Regions from separate parts of the Homo sapiens genome. Here all the other regions are linked to region 1. The links are contacts of gene promoters, found by promoter capture Hi-C in human tissues and cell types (Jung and others, 2019). All regions are on one chromosome and are shown on one strand. Each heading gives the region's core, a stretch centred on a gene start or on the middle of the fragment in contact. The rest is flanking DNA. Distances are from core to core; before and after follow the strand shown. Region 1 holds the start of CNNM1 (cyclin and CBS domain divalent metal cation transport mediator 1). Region 2 overlaps CNNM1 (cyclin and CBS domain divalent metal cation transport mediator 1). Region 3 overlaps CNNM1 (cyclin and CBS domain divalent metal cation transport mediator 1).

Evidence for each region. Contacts are between HindIII fragments. The study calls those that stand out against the background at their distance.
Region 2: a contact is called between a fragment that was not itself captured here and the fragment with the promoter of CNNM1 in region 1, in 1 of the 25 tissues and cell types used here (thymus).
Region 3: a contact is called between a fragment that was not itself captured here and the fragment with the promoter of CNNM1 in region 1, in 1 of the 25 tissues and cell types used here (H1 embryonic stem cells).

Annotation. Positions count from the first base shown.
Region 1 is chr10:99,327,443-99,330,897 of GRCh38, forward strand. It overlaps CNNM1 (cyclin and CBS domain divalent metal cation transport mediator 1), which reads left to right and starts at 1,914. Exons shown (of 11, transcript NM_020348.3): 1 at 1,914-3,455. The coding sequence starts at 1,946. The HindIII fragment of the contact is 11,915 bases long and covers 1-3,455 here.
Region 2 is chr10:99,390,246-99,393,700 of GRCh38, forward strand. CNNM1 (cyclin and CBS domain divalent metal cation transport mediator 1) reads left to right here. Exons shown (of 11, transcript NM_020348.3): 10 at 61-162; 11 at 1,192-3,455. The coding sequence ends at 1,271. Among named protein-coding and RNA genes, the nearest start is that of GOT1, 39 kb to the right of the region's middle. The HindIII fragment of the contact is 6,285 bases long and covers 1-3,455 here.
Region 3 is chr10:99,368,995-99,372,449 of GRCh38, forward strand. The region is part of intron 6 of CNNM1 (cyclin and CBS domain divalent metal cation transport mediator 1); the gene reads left to right. Among named protein-coding and RNA genes, the nearest start is that of CNNM1, 41 kb to the left of the region's middle. The HindIII fragment of the contact is 3,893 bases long and covers 1-3,455 here.

The sequences.
Region 1 (3,455 bases), core at 664-3,163:
TACAAAAGGATGAACTACTGAAAATCACAACAACATAGATGAATCGTAAATGCATTATGCTAACTTAGTAAAGGAAGGGAGAACCCAAAAGGCTACAGACTGTATTCTCCATTTATATGATAATCCGGAAAAGAAAACTATAGGGGAGAACAGATCAGTAGTTCCCAGAGGATAAGACGAAGGGAGGGGTTGACTACATACAATAGGACGGTAAGAGAATTTGGGGGGTGGTGGTGATGGAATTACTTTTTATTGTGATGTTTACATGTATATGCATTTGTCAACATTCATAGAACAGTACACCAAAAAGTGAATTTTACTATATAAAGTTTAAAAATAAATGCATAAAAATAATATAGTCGAGTAAATTCAAACAATATAAGGAATTTAATAAGAAAGTCTCCCTCCCAGATCTTGGTGATAATAGATCTGTATTTTGAGTGCAGTGATGGTCACATACATCCATACATGTGATAAAATGATAGAGAACTATATACACACATTACACCAATATCAACTTCCTGCTTTTGATATTGTACTATAATTAAGATGTAACCCGCCAGGCACGGTGGCTCATGCCTGTAATCCCAGCACTTTGCGAGGCCGAGGCAGGCGGATCACCTGAGGTCAGGAGTTCGAGACCAGCCTGGCCAACGTGGTGAAACCCCGTCTCTACCAAAAAAAAAAAAAAAAAAAATTAGCCGGGCGTGATGGCGGGCGCCTGTAATCCCAGCTACTCAGGAGGCTGAGGTAGGAGAATCGCTTGAACCTGGAAAGCGGAGGTTGCAGTCAGCCGAGATCGCGCCATTGCACGTCAGCCTGGGTGACAAGAGCGAAACTCCGTCTCAAAATAAATAAATTAATTAAAAGATGTAAACGGCGGGTCGCGGTGGCTCACGCCTGTAATCCCAGCACCCTGGGAGGCCGAGGCAGATGGATCATTTGAAGTCAGGGATTCGAGACCAGCTTGGCCAACATGGTGAGACCCCATCTCTACTAAAAATATAAAAATTAGCTGGGCGCGGTGGCGCACGCCTGTAATCCCAGCTACTCAGGAGGCTGAGGTAGGAGAATCGCTTGAACCCGGGAGGTGGAGGTTGCAGTGAGCCAAAATTGTGCCACTGCACTCCACCCTGGGCGACAGAGCAAGACTCCATCTCAAAATAAATAAATAAATAAATAAATCTCATATAAGTGTGTGTGTGTGTACAAATTTATACATAAATACTTTTAACACAAATGGTAGCATATTATACTTGCTGTTCTGCACCTTACTTTGTTTCTACAATTACTTTGGAGATTTTTTTCCGTATCACATATACAACAGATCCACCGCATTATTTTTTATTGCCGCATAGTATTCCATTGCACAGTGGTTTCACTTATTTCAACAGTTTCTTATTGATGGACATTCGGATCTTAACTAAGAATTGAACTTAAATAATCCAGAAATGTTTACAATAATGAAAGGTCGGCTGGAGTTGAGGCTAAAAGTTTTCACATATTCAAGACTTGACTCCAGAATATTCTTTTGACCAGAAGGGGGAATGCAAGTGGCAGGAGAAGCGAAAAGCTGGGAAATTTCCCGGGCCAATGGGGAAGCAGTGGAGCCGGCAGGGAATTACTGCCGGGTAGGAGTTCGCAGAGGAGCACCTTACTTTTGGAGTAGGAGGCCATGCTGCAAACCCAGACTTTTCAGGCTGCATCTCAGATATACCGAAGTGTGTACCCGCTACGCACAGTGCGGTGATGCCTGGCCACCTCCAGCCTCCAGCGGGGACCTCCTGCCCAGGTGGAGTCTGAATGCCCACCGCCACCAGCCCACGCGCGCAGTGGGCGTACACGTGGTGACCTGCCTGCGGCTGGGTTCCCAGCTCCGGCTCCTCCTCCCTCCAGCTCTCGCTCGGCTTCCTGCAGTATCACGTGCAGCTGCGCTGGGTGCAGGATGGCGGCGGCCGCGGCGGCGGCAGCAGCGGTGGGTGTCAGGCTCCGGGACTGCTGCAGCCGAGGCGCTGTGCTCCTGCTCTTCTTTTCCCTGTCTCCTCGGCCCCCGGCCGCCGCCGCCTGGCTGCTGGGCCTGCGGCCCGAGGACACTGCTGGAGGCCGCGTGTCCCTGGAGGGGGGCACCCTGCGCGCCGCCGAAGGCACCAGCTTCCTCCTGCGTGTCTATTTCCAGCCAGGACCGCCGGCCACCGCCGCACCGGTGCCCTCACCGACCCTCAACTCGGGGGAGAATGGCACCGGCGACTGGGCTCCGCGGCTCGTGTTCATCGAGGAGCCCCCGGGCGGTGGCGGCGTGGCCCCCAGCGCGGTCCCCACTCGCCCCCCGGGACCGCAGCGCTGCAGGGAGCAGAGCGACTGGGCATCGGACGTGGAAGTCCTGGGGCCCTTGCGTCCCGGGGGCGTGGCAGGCTCGGCCCTGGTCCAGGTGCGAGTGCGGGAGCTGCGCAAGGGCGAAGCGGAGCGGGGCGGCGCGGGCGGTGGCGGGAAGCTCTTTTCACTCTGCGCCTGGGATGGGCGCGCGTGGCACCACCACGGCGCCGCCGGCGGCTTCCTGCTGCGCGTTCGCCCGCGGTTGTACGGCCCAGGCGGGGACCTGCTGCCCCCTGCGTGGCTGCGGGCGCTCGGGGCGCTCCTGCTGCTAGCCTTGTCGGCCCTGTTCAGCGGCCTGCGCCTGAGCCTGCTGTCGCTGGACCCGGTGGAGTTACGGGTGCTGCGGAACAGCGGCTCGGCCGCCGAGCAGGAGCAGGCGCGCCGCGTGCAGGCCGTTCGCGGCAGGGGGACCCATCTGCTCTGCACCCTACTCCTGGGCCAAGCCGGAGCCAACGCGGCCCTGGCTGGCTGGCTGTACACCTCGCTGCCGCCGGGCTTCGGGGGCACCGGGGAAGACTACAGCGAAGAGGGGATCCACTTCCCGTGGCTGCCGGCGCTCGTGTGCACCGGCGCGGTATTCCTGGGCGCCGAAATCTGCCCCTACTCAGTGTGTTCGCGGCACGGGCTGGCCATCGCCTCGCACAGCGTGTGCCTGACCCGGCTTCTGATGGCAGCCGCCTTCCCCGTGTGCTACCCGCTGGGCCGCCTGCTGGACTGGGCGCTGCGCCAGGAGATAAGCACCTTCTACACGCGGGAGAAGTTGCTGGAGACGTTGCGGGCCGCAGACCCCTACAGTGACCTGGTGAAGGAGGAGCTCAACATCATACAGGGTGCCCTGGAGCTGCGCACCAAAGTTGTGGAGGAGGTGCTGACCCCCCTGGGAGACTGCTTCATGCTGCGCTCAGACGCGGTGCTCGACTTCGCCACTGTCTCCGAGATCCTGCGCAGCGGCTACACTCGCATCCCAGTGTACGAGGGTGACCAGCGGCACAACATTGTGGACATTTTATTTGTCAAGGACTTGGCCTTCGTGGACCCCGACGACTGCACCCCGCTCCTCACTGTCACCCGCTTCTACAACC
Region 2 (3,455 bases), core at 626-3,125, 63 kb after region 1:
TCTCTTGATGCCTGAGTGTGTAGGTTGAGACAACTTGAGTTCTCTCCTTTCCTTTCTCAGCATCAGATAGTGAATGTTGTAACATCAACCTGGATACAGAGACCAGCCCCTGCAGTAGCGATTTTGAGGAAAACGTGGGCAAGAAGCTGCTGAGAACCTTGAGTGAGTAGCTAGTTCTTCACCCAAATGAGAGCCACCCTGCTGATGGTTAGTAGGAAAAGCATGTTAGCATCTTCCTCTTGGGGGAGGAGCCATGGACTCCTCTTAGAAACCCTAATGAGGTACAATTGTGGAAATCCGCAGAAGGGGTTGGGCCAGCACTGCACCCTTGATAGTTTTGGGATCTGTCCCATTCAGTTGTTTGTCCTCTAGGACAGAAGTCTGCACACCATGCCCACAGGTCAATTCTGACCTCCCTCCTTTACTTGTTTTTGTAAGTAAGGACTTATTGGATCACAGACAGATCCATTTGTTATCTATGGCAACAATGTCAGAGTCGAGTAATTGTGACAGAGACCATATGGCCCACAGGCCTCTAATATTTTCTGTCTAGTCCTTTAAAGAATTGGTGTCCAGGAGACTCAATAGAAAGAGAGCAATCTCCTCCACAGATGGAAGTCAATGGTGGAGAGAACAAGGTGAAGATATTCCTTCCTAAAAACAGACCTGGGAACAGATTGCTCTCTCATCCTTGAGGACAACTATGTAATTATGCCCACCTGCCCCACTGCAGAAGGGAGGTTGCTTCAGAGCTAGAGAACGCAGGTCCCTGGAAATGGCTTGCAGCTACAGCCACCAACCCTGATTCATGGGACATCAAAGTCTATGAGATTGGTCCTCTCTGAGGGTGTCTGGCAGTCAGAGGGGCTGGCCCCCAAGGGGCGCAGGAGGCATGGGCCTGAGGTGTTACATGGGCTTTACTCAGTCCCCTCCAGGAAGTCTCAATTCCAGGCACCAGCCTGGGTTTGTGACTTTTCAGAGATGGCATCTTATGTGGAAAGTACGTCCTAATCTTTCAAGATGTAAATATGCCAATATCAGCACCAGCATACAATGCCGGTTAGTTCTAACCAAGCTGTCAAGGGCTTTGTCTCCATTTCTGCTTCTGTTTTGAAAAGAACTCAGACTGCCAAGCAATTATGAATGTTCCTCCAGTGTTACAGGCTGATACTTGCAACTTGTTTTTTTCAGGTGGCCAAAAAAGGAAGAGGTCACCAGAAGGAGAGAGAACCTCTGAGGACAACTCCAATTTAACACCTCTGATCACATGACAGGGCAAAGCCAGCATTCACTGGGTGTGTGAAATTCCAGAGCTTTGGGGGAGAATCCACCCTCCCATCATCTGCTTCCCCCAAGGCCTCCCACAGGTGACAGAATGTTCTGCCTTCCCTTCCATCTCTTCACCCCTAGCTGTCAGTTTGGCAGATTTTCCCTCGTTACCTCCAGTTCGACTCAGAACCTTGACATGGCCATAACAGAAGGAGGTGCCTCTGATAGAACATGCTAGAAATGGTCTTTTCCACAGCATAGTCTGGGACTGGAAAAGAGATGTCTGACTGCAAGCTGACAATGCCACTCTGGGACCCCTGATGCTCTTCTTTGTTCTTTGGGTCCCCTGATGCCATAGGAGACCTATCGTCTTGGAACTTGCCATTCTTTCCTCCAGAACAAAATGTTAACTTTCTAACACATTTCATGCATAGCTTGGCTCAGAAGGTGCCATTGGCAGACAGGCACATGGGAGGCTGGAGTAGGAGGTCTGAAGATTAGTTCAGGGGATGGACCAAGAATTTCCCCCAGAGCTTTAAAGAAGTGGGACTCAGCCATGTTGGCGCGTGATTGACATTACAGCACAGAAAACTGTTAGTGACTGGTTTCCTGTTAGATAAGGGTTCCAGCAGCCTGGGGCAGTATGTCTCAGCTGGAATGGAAAGAATGTGAGATGGAACCTCAAGTCACTGTTTTTACCAGGGACACATCTGTTTTGGCTCCCAATCAGCAGTCTTCAATCGATCAATAATTCTGCTCTGGAAGAGAAGGAACAGGGAGCAGAGAGACCCAACTGGGAGCCAGAGATGGAACTTCAGGTCTTAAGTGCAAATCAAAGCAAAAAACAAACAAAACTTACATGGAAAAACTGTAAGTGCTGAAAGCAAGTTTAGCCATGACAAACCAAAGAGTGCCCAGGTCAGCCAAGAAAGATACATAATCTCATGGGACTTCAGTGGGAGTTACACAGGAATGTTGAAGAATCATTCTTCTTTTTCATGCATTTGTCCTTCTCCCACCCCCTTACTACACCCTAGCAGATCAGCTGAGTGTACTTTATTCCAAGAACTTACTGGATCTCTGGTTTTTCTCCTGAAGTTGGGGCAGGTGCAATTCCAAGCATAACCACCAGATGGCAGAGTGACCGCGCATACCTGCTTCCAAGAATAAAACAGTTCTGAAAAGCAACCGCAAAGCCGGGCGCGGTGGCTCACACCTGTAATCCCAACAGTTTGGAAGACCGAGGCGGGTGGATCACTTGAAGTCAGGAGTTTGAGACCAGCCTGGCCAACATGGTGAAACCCCATCTCTCCTGGGCATGTAGTCCCAGCTACTCGGGAGGCTGAGGCAGGAGAATCGCTTGAACCTGGGAGGCAGAGGTTGCAGTGAGCTGAGATCACACCACTGCACTTCATCCTAGGCAACAGAGCGAGACTCTGTCTCCCCCCGCAAAAAAAAAAAAGAAAGAAAGAAAGAGAAAAGAAAAGAAAAGCAACCACAGCCAGCCTTAGGGAAAACTTGGAAGTAAGTGAAATTTGTCTTCAGAATAACTATCTCCCTTTCTGATCTGTCTCCTACTCTTTAGATGTTCTCAGTCAAGTACTCACTGAACTCATTGATCGAGTGCTGTCTGCTAAATCTCCAAACCATTCCCAAACCTTTCCCCGTAGTATACCATCCAGCTTCCCTCCCCTTCCTCCAAAACCCTCCCTCCCACCTCCCCACACCCATTGAGTCATTCACAGGCAGGAGGGAGACTGATCATTCCTCTGGGTTATCTGCATCTCAAAAGAAAATGCTTACCCACAGGAACTGTTAACTCAGGGGTTCTTAACTTGGGGTCCATCACCCCAGGGGGTCCATAGTTGGACTTCAGAGGGTCTATGAAACCCCTAAAACTGTCAGTATTTAATGTATTTATTCTTGTATGTTTTTTCCAGAGCATTAAAGCTTTCATAAGGTTCTCAAAGGTCTCAGACCTACAAAGAGTTAAAACAAACAGACAAACAAAAAAAAACACTACTATTTTAAATAGTGGAACTTTCAGCCCAGCGTTTCTGCAATGCAGAGTGAAGTGGATACTGGGCAGTTCGAGACAGGTTTTTAATCATAAGTGGTCTTTTCAAATGTCCATCAATTGATGGGGAAGGCTGGCACCCACCAAGAAGTGGAAGTCCTCAGAAATT
Region 3 (3,455 bases), core at 298-2,797, 41 kb after region 1:
AATGAAGTAGGAATAGTGGAATACTGTGCTTTATTTCTACCTATTTTCTTTCTACCTTTCTTTCCTTCCATGTCCTCATCTTCCTAATAATGTTACTATGTGATGATCATATGCTCACTAGCTCTGCTCGTACAAAGGATGCTATATGTAAAACTTTCAAAACAACTTTTCATTAGGTTTAACCTCTTTTGTTGATAAATGAAATAGTCACTGGGTTTCTTTTTAATCGGGTAACAATTCCTCATAGAGCTAGACAATGATTCAATGACTGAGTAGAATGCCACAAATCTGAATGATCAACCGTTTGTTTTCATCTCCAGTGGTTGTTCTCTTGGGCTCATAGAGCAAGTAATGACTAAACCAGGAATGTATTTGTTAAATTGCCCTGCAGTTAGAACACAGTCCAATTTCCTCTACCCTCTAAATCTGTATCCCTTATCACGTTGCTGGGGTAATGATACTAAGACCCCACCATATCCTCAGTCATCGAGAAATCGCTTATGTTTCTCTGTCTATATAGTAGACCCTCAACATTTAAAAAAGGTCATGTTTTGAGACTTCAAACCCTCCAATTTGCAACCTCAGAAGTATTTATGTTGACTTCTGTTTTTTCCCAAAATCACTTTTTTTCATCAAAAACCATCTGGTCCTCATGTTGATCTATACAAGATAAGTTAACCACCTTCTCAAATTTCACCAAAGTTTTCTCTCTCTCTCTCGATGGTGATTTTCCACTAAGAAATAGTTTTTCTTGCTTTGTGAGAGCTCATGCCTTCATAATGACTACAGGATCGGACAGTCAATGTGAAATGCCAATCTGGTGCCCTCACCAGCTAAATGGTCTACTCCTACATGCCCGCAAAATTAGAAATGACCACTTGATGGACCTTCAAGTTCCTTCACATGCAGTGAATCTTGGTGAATGCCAAGAGTGTGCTGTGAAGGTTCAGAGGAAAGGGGAGATGCACATTTTAAAAGACTTTCAGCCCAAAAGATCAAAGCGAGGATGTGTTTTCCTTTTTAATTAACCTTCAGTTAACCAGATGACCTAGTTAATTGTAACTTCCCAGTTAAAGGAAGGTTAATTCTAGTTCATCTGTATTGATTATTATAAAGTCCATGATAACCCAATGTCAGACAGAGATGAAAGTGATTCCCTCCTGCTGTGCAGAACCCCCAGGAAGTGCTGAGACTTCTGATCCAACTCTGGGTGGTGTCATGTGCCCCTGAGAGTATTTTCAACTTTCCCCCCTTTTCCATGACTGTGGATATTCAACACAACAGGAGATTAGTGTCAACACAATGGAAACCCTACCCATAAAGAGGTAAGCTTATTCCCACCCTTGGTTTAACTCTGCAGGGTGGAGCAATGGTGGGTACAGTGGGAGAAAACCAGAGGTAGGGAATGCCTAGTTTCTCCTTTGGCTTATTCCTCTCCACCTTGTGTCTGGTCTCTATCTAGAGCTAATCACTGTGCCTTCCCAGTGATCAGCTGACATCCACAGGACCTATTCTGTGGTATTTCCTCTGTCACTCTTGCTTTTGTTCCAAATCATTAAAAGAAGTAGCCTCAGAGGTCTGGGATTTTTGTAGAAAGAAGTTCCAGGTAACTTCTGGCCCTGTAAGCACAGACTTTGGAACCAAGGGCTCTTATTCAGTGCTCGATCGTCCATTCATAGTGTGCATTGAGATCAACAATGATGCCATTTTCTCCTAGAATATACCAAAGTACCTAAAAATTTTTTTTACTTTGCAAAATGTGCTAAGTGGAAATATTGATTTCTGATCCAGATACATTAATTTACATATATGCTAAATCTCAACCGTATCTTATATGGGAGGAAAATAAATCCTAGAGATTAGTAGGGTCTTGAAGTCTAAGAAAGAATTGTCATTGTCTGATTTGACTCCCCACAATCACTTTGGGAGATAGGCAGGAATAGTCATTGAAAAACAACAGATTAAAAAACAGGTTCTGAGAAAGTCAGTCAGTGTTGTATGTGTATTAGGTAGGCAGAGGGACAAGGACTGGAATCTAAGTCTTAGATCCTGCTCTCCACCTACTGCCTGGGACCTTGCTGTACCTCTGAATATAGACATTTTATGCCCCCTAGAGGGCTGTGATTTATTTGCATTTTGAAAGCAGTGCTAATTACGAATCTGGTGCTCGCACTAGATTGAGGCTAGGGGTCTCTGCACCAAATATTGCCATCATTATCCATAGGGAGTCTCTTTCTATTTGAGCCTTAGTTTGAAATAAGAACACAGTGGTTCACAGATTACCTCCAGGTTGTGGTGTGGTTAACCAACTTGGCAGGTGCTTTCATTTAAAAATGAAACTTCTGATCAGGGGTTTCCCCTGAAAGTACACAGCCCCACTGCAATTAGCATTCCCTTTCCCCATATTCACTCCTTCTTTCTTCTCCTGGTGGTGGAGATAATTTTGAATTCCCCATAACAGTCCTTTCAAATCCACAAAAGCACAGAGACAGAGACTTTGGAACCAACGGTTCTTTTTCAGTGCTCGGTTATCTATTCATAATGTGCACTGAGATCAATAATGACAGTTTTCTGCTTGAATATACAGGGAATCTCTAAAAATAATATTTCTACTTTGCAAAATGTGGTAAGTGGAAATATTCCTTCGGGTTGGCTCTTGTGTGATGAACATTTGGGAACCATTAAAGCTCCGTGTAAAGTGAATGAGTTCATCTGGGATCCTAACTTGGGCTTAGAGTTCACATCGTAGTTTTGACAGACAGCTGGCTTTGGTGTTCGGTTGTCTGATGCTAAATATTGCCCCAGTATAATGAATTTTAATAATTCTAGTTGGTACTCTTACAGGTCTATGTAATTAAGCTTCCTCATCCATTTTGGAGAACAGAGATGGCCCACGGCACAATCACAGTCAGACCAAAGTAGGCCATTCCCCCTCATCCCTCACTGATGGTACAAAAGATGTAGGCAGGCAACCCCTGAACCCTCCTTTTTCCTCAAATCCTCATAGGGAAAATGGGAGCTTAGCATTCTACTTCTGTATCTTGGGGTCTGATTCCAGGATAGGGTTGTGAAGGCTCCCTGGATACAGGTGTCACAAATGAAGCAAGAGTCCCAGAGCTGCTGTGTATAGATTTTCAGGGCCCCTGACTATTACTACAGAAGGAGAGGAGATTCCATCCAGCCCCGATTACAGTGTGAAGTCCTCTTCCATACCCTTTGCCACCCTGCCCCCAATTTTACCCTAGTGCCTTCCCCACCCAAACCTCAGCAATCCAAGTAGCCAACCCAGGACAGATATCTGTTAGAGACTGACCACTCAAAGGCTGCAGGAATGAGGTCTGCCACAATTTCACAGAGCAGAAAACCCTGCTCCCCATCACCCGGTTACACCTGAGCCAACCTGAGGGTCTGATGCAAGAGCAAGAGTGGGCAAGGGATGGGTTGGTTGCTTGGCC